2 separate regions of the Homo sapiens genome follow, and region 2 is linked to region 1. The links are contacts of gene promoters, found by promoter capture Hi-C in human tissues and cell types (Jung and others, 2019). All regions are on one chromosome and are shown on one strand. Each heading gives the region's core, a stretch centred on a gene start or on the middle of the fragment in contact. The rest is flanking DNA. Distances are from core to core; before and after follow the strand shown. Region 1 holds the start of IPO9 (importin 9). Region 2 holds the start of GPR37L1 (G protein-coupled receptor 37 like 1).

Region 1 (4,004 bases), core at 780-3,279:
GGGAGGAACCCCTGCTCGCACATTATGGACATAGAATCCTTCACCGGATCTCAAAACATCCAGCCCAAACATCAAGGCTCCGGAGTCCTCCATCTGGGTTGCTGCAGTGTTTGAAAACATACCACCCTCTTGACTTTGCTAAATTTTCTTCTTGGGGTAAAAGTGAACTGACCTATTAGAAGCTGTTGTAATCAAGTTCAACTTCTTTTGGCCACTTCAAGAAAGTAAATAGGCTTACTATTCCCCATTGCAAAATTGAAGGGTCCAAGAAGCAATCTTTTCCCTATGAAATTGTAGTAACATAACTCATCTCTGCCCTCTTAACATGGGAGGTGACAAGTGTGTTGAGAACTCTCTTCAAGCCAGTTGCAGTGGGTGTACCTGTAGTTCTAGCTACTCTGGATGCTGAGGTGGGAGGATCACCTGTCCAGCCTGGGCAACATAGCAAGACCCCCCCAACTCAAAAATAAATAATTGAGAAAGCTTTCTTTTGAAGTAATCTTCTGATGAGATGACTTAATCCCTGATTGTTACCAGTCCAGCATCCACAGTCTTGGAAGTGACCTAGGATTTGGTAACTCGTTTCCTTTGCCATGTGAGAATGAACTCACTTGATAAGGGTTCCTGGGAACCATTTTGAAGGCACATAACCTGAACAGCTCACTAAAAAATACCTGTTTCTGTTTGCTCTAGAACCTCCCATTCCAACAACATTCTATCCTTTCTGCCACTACATGCTTGCCACTCTGCCCTGCATTTTTTTTAATTTTTATTTTTTTTTATAGACAGAGTCTGTATATCTTGCCCAGACTGGAATGCAGTAGCTATTCATAGGTGTGATGACAGCACACTACAGCCTGGAACTCCTGGGCTCAAGTGATCCTCCTGCCTTGGCTTACATCTTGCTTTTTCTTCTTTTTCTGAGACAAGATGTCACTCTGTCGCCCAGGCTGGAGTGCAATGGCGCAATCACTGCTCACTGCAGCCTCCTCCTCCTGGGCTCAAGTGATCTTCCCACCTCCACCTCCCGAACAGCCGGGACTACAGGGCGTACGCCACCACGCCTGGGCAATTTTTGTATTTTTTTGTAGAGACGAAGTCTCGCTATGTTGCCCAGGCTGTTCTCGAAATCCTGGGCTCAAGCGATCCTCCTGCCTCGGCCTCCCAAAGTGCTAGGATTAGAGGCGTGAGCCACTGCGCCTCGCCACACCCTGCATTTTTAACACCTCACTGGAGCGCTCATCCTCTCCACCTGCTCCGCTATTCAGGAGCGGCTCTGCACCGTAGGCCATTTCCCACGACCAGCTGCTGACAACCATATCATCAAACTGCTCTTGTTCTCGCACCCCTTAAATGTCCAGCCATAATTTCTCAGGGAAAAAAATTTATACATTTTCAACAAATAGGATTCATTCTCAAATAGTCACATACAACACTCACTCTGGAAGAAACTCCCTTTCACATGCCGGTGTCTCCCCTGCCCAGCCACTTCCCAGCTTTGAGGTTGGGCTCATCTAGGCTGGAAAACCAAGGGACTGGGCCGTGGTTTTCCCACTTCCACTTCCCAGTTTGCTTTAGTTTATTTTCCCCCCTCTTTGGATTCCTGAGGCTAAGATGAAGAGAGTCACTTGAGCCAACTTTTTTTCAGTGTTTGGGGGGAAAAGAATGTGGTTTAAAATAGGGGCTATTTGTGACCCAGACCTCTCTCCTTAAAGCCCTCTACATCTATTCCCATCCCGCCTCCTCTCTCCTAACACCTGAAAGATGCATGAATATAAAGTCATATATCATGAACTTTATTCCAAATGAGATTGCTAACTTACTGTGCAACTTTAGGAAAGCCCCTTAACCTGTCTGGGGCTCAGTTTTCACACAAATCCAGAGATCCTTGCAGAGAAAGGTGCAGTTCTCGTTCAGGCAGCAGGAGGCGCTGTCTCTGGAGGCTTAGATTCATTCCCCGCCCTCCGCCCGCTCCCGCCCGCCTCTGGTGCGCAGGCGCGGCTTCGCGGATTGGCCGCGCGCGGGGGCCGTCATTCGGTGGCGGGTCCCGGCCGCGGGGCTGGCGGGCTGAGGGGAGAAAAGATGGCGGCGGCGGCGGCAGCTGGTGCGGCCTCCGGGCTGCCGGGTCCAGTGGCACAAGGATTAAAGGAAGCGTTAGTGGATACGCTCACCGGGATCCTATCCCCAGTACAGGAGGTGCGGGCGGCTGCTGAAGAACAGATTAAGGTGCTGGAGGTGACGGAGGGTGAGTGAGGCGGGACCGTCACGAGGATGGCTCAGCCGCACAATCCGCTGACCGCAGCTCCGTACCGGCTGGGGACATGGGGAGCCTGAGCCAGTTGGAGATGTGGGCGCCGAGAAGTGGAGCAGGAAGCGAGAGATTGATGTCGCTGGTGGTTGTGAAAGTCCGAGAGAGGAGAGGCGCGCCTGAAGGATAGGGTCGGGGGAGGTGGAGCCTGGGAGTGGGGGAGGGAGGGTGGAGACTTGAAAAGATAGATGGAGCCTAGAATCTGCAGGGGACGGAGATGGAGCTAGACTTGGTGCTGTTGGAGGAAGTAGCGCGGTCGGGGAAATATTTTTTGAGTCCAGGACCAAAGTCTTTCGCTGTTCTCTTCACCAGCTGGATTGTACTGGGATAAGAGTAGGGGGAGCTATTAGTAGGAGTGGTGAAGGGTAGGGCCTCGAAAAGGCGGCTATCAAAGCTTAATAGATGTCATCAAACAAGTTTCTGCCTCTGAGTTATAAACCTAGCTAGTTGTTTGTACTCTTCGTGTTTTCCCAGAAATTAAATGCATATGCGATTGCTTCACTGTCCTGACCATACTTAACGTTTATTTTAAAAATAATTTGCCCTTATTAAATACCTTTGTGCATTTCTGTTTGGAGGAACTGATCATCCTTTGTTTTTGATTCTTTGTCTCCGTCCTCTATTGTGTGCTTTAAAGTGATGGAGAAGAAAATAAACCATTGGTTCGAGATTTTCTATCAATTTCCTGCCGCGTGAGCCTTTCACCGGGTCCAGTGTAGCTACCACAAAGAACAATTTAATCCAGAAACAGGAGGAGAAATCTTCTTGGTCTTTGTGTAAGAAATATATCTGGTCAGAGCTTCACTGGAACTCCAAATCCTCAGAATCTCCCAACTCAGGAATATTTCCACCACCACTTAAATACTTCATCAGAGATATGGGAAATTGTCCCATCACACACCCATCATATTCAAAACCTTCAGTTAGCTCTCCTACTGGACGTATTTCTATTGAAAAGAATTTAGAACAAATCTCTCTTAAATTTAGTTTACATTCTTTCACAGTATGAAAGAGCTGTTGAAAACAAATTTTCTTCTGTTGGAAATATGTTAAGATTTGGGATCTAACAGGCTAAGGACCATTTTGAAGGCCCACTTGTAATTGTCATTGTTTTATAAAATATCAGATCTATACAGGAGAAACCACTGGTTAGGAGAAAGCTGTTTGAGAACCATGTATAAACTAATCTAAAGGAATTTTTAGCGGCTTCTAAATAAAATTCGTTTATGCACATTAATGTCTGTCCCCCTTGAGTATGAGGAAGGAAGAGTGACAAAGCAAAGGAACCTCATCACATTCAAGTTGTCACCTGAATAAAACTTGAGAGTCTGGTGCAAATTCATCTTAACTAAACCTTCCCTGAGTGGTACCCAGTGCTCCTGGTGCTCCAAATGCATGTCTGGCACCTTTGTATGAAAGGTGGACCTTGACTTGTATTTAAACTGTCTTACAACAACTCCACTTTTGCTCTGATCTTTTCAACTTTAGCCAAATGCCATGGTCTCATCTGGGCAAAGTCAATTATAAAGTTCTCGAGGTCTTTTTTGAAACTCTGATTCCTCACTTTATTCATCTTTTTTTTCTTGAGACTGGGTCTCGCTCTATCGTGTAGACTTTGGAGCAGTGATGCCATCATGGCTCACTGCAGCCTCAAACTTTTGGACTCAAGCGATCCTCCCACCTAGGCCTCCCAAAG
Region 2 (4,004 bases), core at 1,113-3,612, 290 kb after region 1:
CAAATAGCACACCTCTCATCTCCTCTCCTCTCCCCTCCCCTCCCCTCCCCCAACTTCCTTTCCTTTTCTCTTTCTTTTTTGATGGAATCTTGCTCTGTCGCCCAGGCTGGAGTACATTGGCCGCAATCTCAGCTCACTGCAACCTCCGCCTTCCGGGTTCAAGTGATTCTCCTGCCTCAGCCTTCTAAATAGCTGGGATTACAGGTGCCTGCCACCACGCGTGGCTAATTTTTTTTTTTTTGTATTTTTAGTAGAGACGGGGGTTTCACCATGTTGGTCAGGCTGGTCTTGAACTCCTGACCTTGTGATCTGCCCACCTCAGCCTCCCAAAGTGCTGGGATTACACACATGAGCCACTGCGTCTGGCCCTTTTTTTTTTTTTTTTTTTTTTTGAGACAGAGTCTTGCTCTGTTGCCCAGGCTGGAGTGCAGTGGCATGATCTCGGATCACTGCAACCTCTGCCTCCTGGGTTCAAGTGATTCTGATGCCCTAGCCTCCCGAGTAGCTGGGATTACAGGTGTGCACTGCCACATCTGTCCAATTTTTGTATTTTTAGTAGAGATGGGGTTTCACCATGTTGTCTGGGCTGGTGAAGGTGGTAGGTTTCAATGACAGCAGCATAATGCCGTGGGAGTTGGGAGGAGGGAATGATCTGACTCACTCTGGGGCAGGTCTTCGAGTTAATTCTCCAGTGGATTCTCCTAGGCATCGTGTGGTCCGTCCTCAGAACTGTGCCTCCCTAATGTGGCTGAGTGGATTCACTACCCACCCCATGCTTGGGCTCTGCCTCGACCTCTCCCTCCCATGCACAGCCAAAGCCGCTCAAAGCTGCTGGTTTTCCTTGACTCTGGGCTTCTCTCCATCACCCACTGCCTCCCAACAGAACCCCCGGTCTCTGCATCCTCCTGTTCCAGATTGCTAGGACCCCAGCTGCCCATCAGGGACCCCTCTAAAATAACTTAGTTGAGTCATTGTTTGCCTACTTAACAACCTGTGATATTCTCCATTGCTTATGGGATAAAATCTAAACTCCTTGGCTTGGCATACAAAGTCCTTTACAGTCCAGTTCCTCCTCTGCTGATATTTCCAAGCTCTTTGTCCCAAGTGCCCATGCTCTCTCCCCACCTCCCTTGCACTCTAGTCCCCTCGACAGACTTGCTCTCTTGCGGGAACATCACCCACTTCCACATCACCCAGCCTTTGTGTGTGCTGTGTCTTCTGCCTAGAGCACCCTCCCTTCCCGTAGTCTGTCAGGCAAGCTCACAGCCATTTCTCGGGATCCATTCAAATGTCACCTCGCTTGGGAGGCCTTCCAGATCCCCCCCAGATTTTCTTGGGTTCCCTCAGCATCATGACCTTTGCCTTTCATAGCATCTATCATGCTGAACTTACACATTTACTTCCTTCTCTGGACTGAAAGCTCATTGGTGGCAGAGATCCTTTACATTTTTGTATTCTGAGTGTCTGGAACACAACACGTAGTCAGTAAAGACGTGTTATTGCAAATGTCCACACATCTTGTGTCTGGCTCAGAATATGGTGTTTTAGGCCGGGTGCGGTGGCTCCCAGCACTTTGGGAGGCTGAGGCAGGCGGATCACCTGAGGTTAGGAGTTTGAGACCAGCCTGGTCAACACGGTGAAACCCTGTCTCTACTAAAAATACAAAAATTAGCCGGGTATGGTGGCGGGCACTACAGTAACTGTAATCCCAGTTACTCAGGGGGCTGAGGCAGGAGAATCACTTGAACCCAGGAGGCGGAGGCTGCAGTGAGCCAAGACCGCGCCATTGCACTCCAGCCTGGGCAACCGAAAAAAAAAAAAAAATTAGAAATCTCTGGAGTCAGATCTGGGTTGTGGGCCTTGCTCTGCCTTGTATCAACTATGTGGCAAGTGACTGACCTCTACAAACCTCAGATTTGTGATCTGAGATTAATCAAGGGTTAATTGAGAAACCAGCTGAGTGCTAGCACCTAGTAAGTGTTCAGTAAGTGACAGTGATGGTTATTGCTGAGTTTTGAATGGAGGAGCTGCCTTAGAATCAGGAGACCTGCGCCCCAGTTCCCATTCTGCCCCACCTCCCTGTGTCACCCTAGGCAGGCCACATTTCCTCCCTAGTTTCAGGGGCCTGAAGCAGATGCCCTCTTAGGGCCCCACAGCCTGACATGCTGTAGGGCCTGAGAAGCGGCGTCGTGGAGGACGAGATGTGTGAGGGCAGCAAAGAGTGCTATGTGTCCAGCAGAGGGCCCTGCCCGGCCTGTGGCCGGAGGCTGGGAGGGAGGGCAGGCGAGTGATGCCAGACGCCTGACTGGAGGCGGATCCAGCCGGCCAGCTGCCTCTCTGGAGCCCAGCTCTTGGGCCCCCTGCACTCACCTGCTCTTCCTGGGCTGGCTGTCTCCTGCTCATCCAGCCATGCGGTGGCTGTGGCCCCTGGCTGTCTCTCTTGCTGTGATTTTGGCTGTGGGGCTAAGCAGGGTCTCTGGGGGTGCCCCCCTGCACCTGGGCAGGCACAGAGCCGAGACCCAGGAGCAGCAGAGCCGATCCAAGAGGGGCACCGAGGATGAGGAGGCCAAGGGCGTGCAGCAGTATGTGCCTGAGGAGTGGGCGGAGTACCCCCGGCCCATTCACCCTGCTGGCCTGCAGCCAACCAAGCCCTTGGTGGCCACCAGCCCTAACCCCGGCAAGGATGGGGGCACCCCAGACAGTGGGCAGGAACTGAGGGGCAATCTGACAGGAGCACCAGGGCAGAGGCTACAGATCCAGAACCCCCTGTATCCGGTGACCGAGAGCTCCTACAGTGCCTATGCCATCATGCTTCTGGCGCTGGTGGTGTTTGCGGTGGGCATTGTGGGCAACCTGTCGGTCATGTGCATCGTGTGGCACAGCTACTACCTGAAGAGTGCCTGGAACTCCATCCTTGCCAGCCTGGCCCTCTGGGATTTTCTGGTCCTCTTTTTCTGCCTCCCTATTGTCATCTTCAACGAGATCACCAAGCAGAGGCTACTGGGTGACGTTTCTTGTCGTGCCGTGCCCTTCATGGAGGTGAGTGTGTGTTCTGTTTGAGCTCTGCTGGGAGGCTGCAATCCAGGGAAGGGACTCAAAGTCTCCATCAGGTCTTTGGAAATGGAATTTGTGGGTGTGCAAAACCTGAGTCTTGGAGCTCTGACTTGCTCCTCCTTTACCTTGGAGAAGGAGACAAATACGGTATTGGTTTCTGGTTGCTCTCAAGAGAAGTAGGCAGGCCAGGGGGACAGGCGGGTGTGTGGGGCCCCTGGGTTCCAGCCCCAGCCTGATCTTCTGCTTCGGGAGCAACCTCAAGGCAGGCCTTTGCCACTTTCTCCAGACCCTAAGCTGCCCTCTCCCTTCCTCAGCCCTTCTCCCCTGTCCCACCCAAGATACCTCTGTCCTTTGTTGTGACTCCTCTTCTTTCCTCTGTACCCCCTGCCGCTGCCCTGCTCCCACAGCTTCCTTCGCTGCTCCTCCGTCTCCTGCCTCCTGAAGGAGTGCCTGAAGGGAGAGCCCAATTTCCTTCACACCCCTCTGGATCAAGTCAGCATCCACTCCATGAGAATACAAGCACCAGAAGCAAAAGACCGCTCCGTTCTTCCCTCCCTGCTGGGATTCTCATTGTTATCGTTGTCATTTCCATCAGCAACTTCCTAGATCCTCTCTGAAAGGGATACCTGGTTCTGGGCACTGGAACTAATGGGGGGCTCTAGTCTTAGCTCTGCCACTGACATACTGGGCGTCACTGGGCAGGTTGCATTACCTCTCCAATTTCTTTATCTCCCAACCAGGGCGGGTAGACCAGATGGTCCTTCCAGCTGGCCTGTTTCACAGTTCTAAAGTATACCACTATGCCCTTACTTCTGGTAGCGTCTACGATAAGTCCATGGGTGTCAAAGGATATGTAGAGCATAGAGAGACAACTTAAAACACTGCAGAAACATACTGATGTGTGCATTTATGCAAGACACAGCAAGGCCACCCTCTCTCTCTCTGTAAGA

The links. The method cuts DNA at HindIII sites, captures the fragments that hold promoters and counts their contacts. A contact is called where the count stands out against the background at its distance.
Region 2: a contact is called between the fragment with the promoter of GPR37L1 here and the fragment with the promoter of IPO9 in region 1, in 2 of the 25 tissues and cell types used here (IMR-90 fibroblasts and heart left ventricle).

Annotation. Positions count from the first base shown.
Region 1 is chr1:201,827,128-201,831,131 of GRCh38, forward strand. It overlaps IPO9 (importin 9), which reads left to right and starts at 2,030. Exons shown (of 24, transcript NM_018085.5): 1 at 2,030-2,245. The coding sequence starts at 2,083. It overlaps IPO9-AS1 (IPO9 antisense RNA 1), which reads right to left and starts at 2,432. Exons shown (of 3, transcript NR_046696.1): 1 at 1,824-2,432. RefSeq lists enhancers at 629-1,143, 1,144-1,657, 1,814-2,108, 2,120-2,329 and a silencer at 1,830-2,069. The HindIII fragment of the contact is 5,409 bases long and covers 1-4,004 here.
Region 2 is chr1:202,120,555-202,124,558 of GRCh38, forward strand. GPR37L1 (G protein-coupled receptor 37 like 1) reads left to right here and starts at 2,363. Exons shown (of 2, transcript NM_004767.5): 1 at 2,363-3,039. The coding sequence starts at 2,410. LOC105371683 (a long non-coding RNA gene) reads right to left here. Exons shown (of 3, transcript XR_922422.3): 2 at 3,397-3,504; 3 at 3,033-3,179. The HindIII fragment of the contact is 29,285 bases long and covers 1-4,004 here.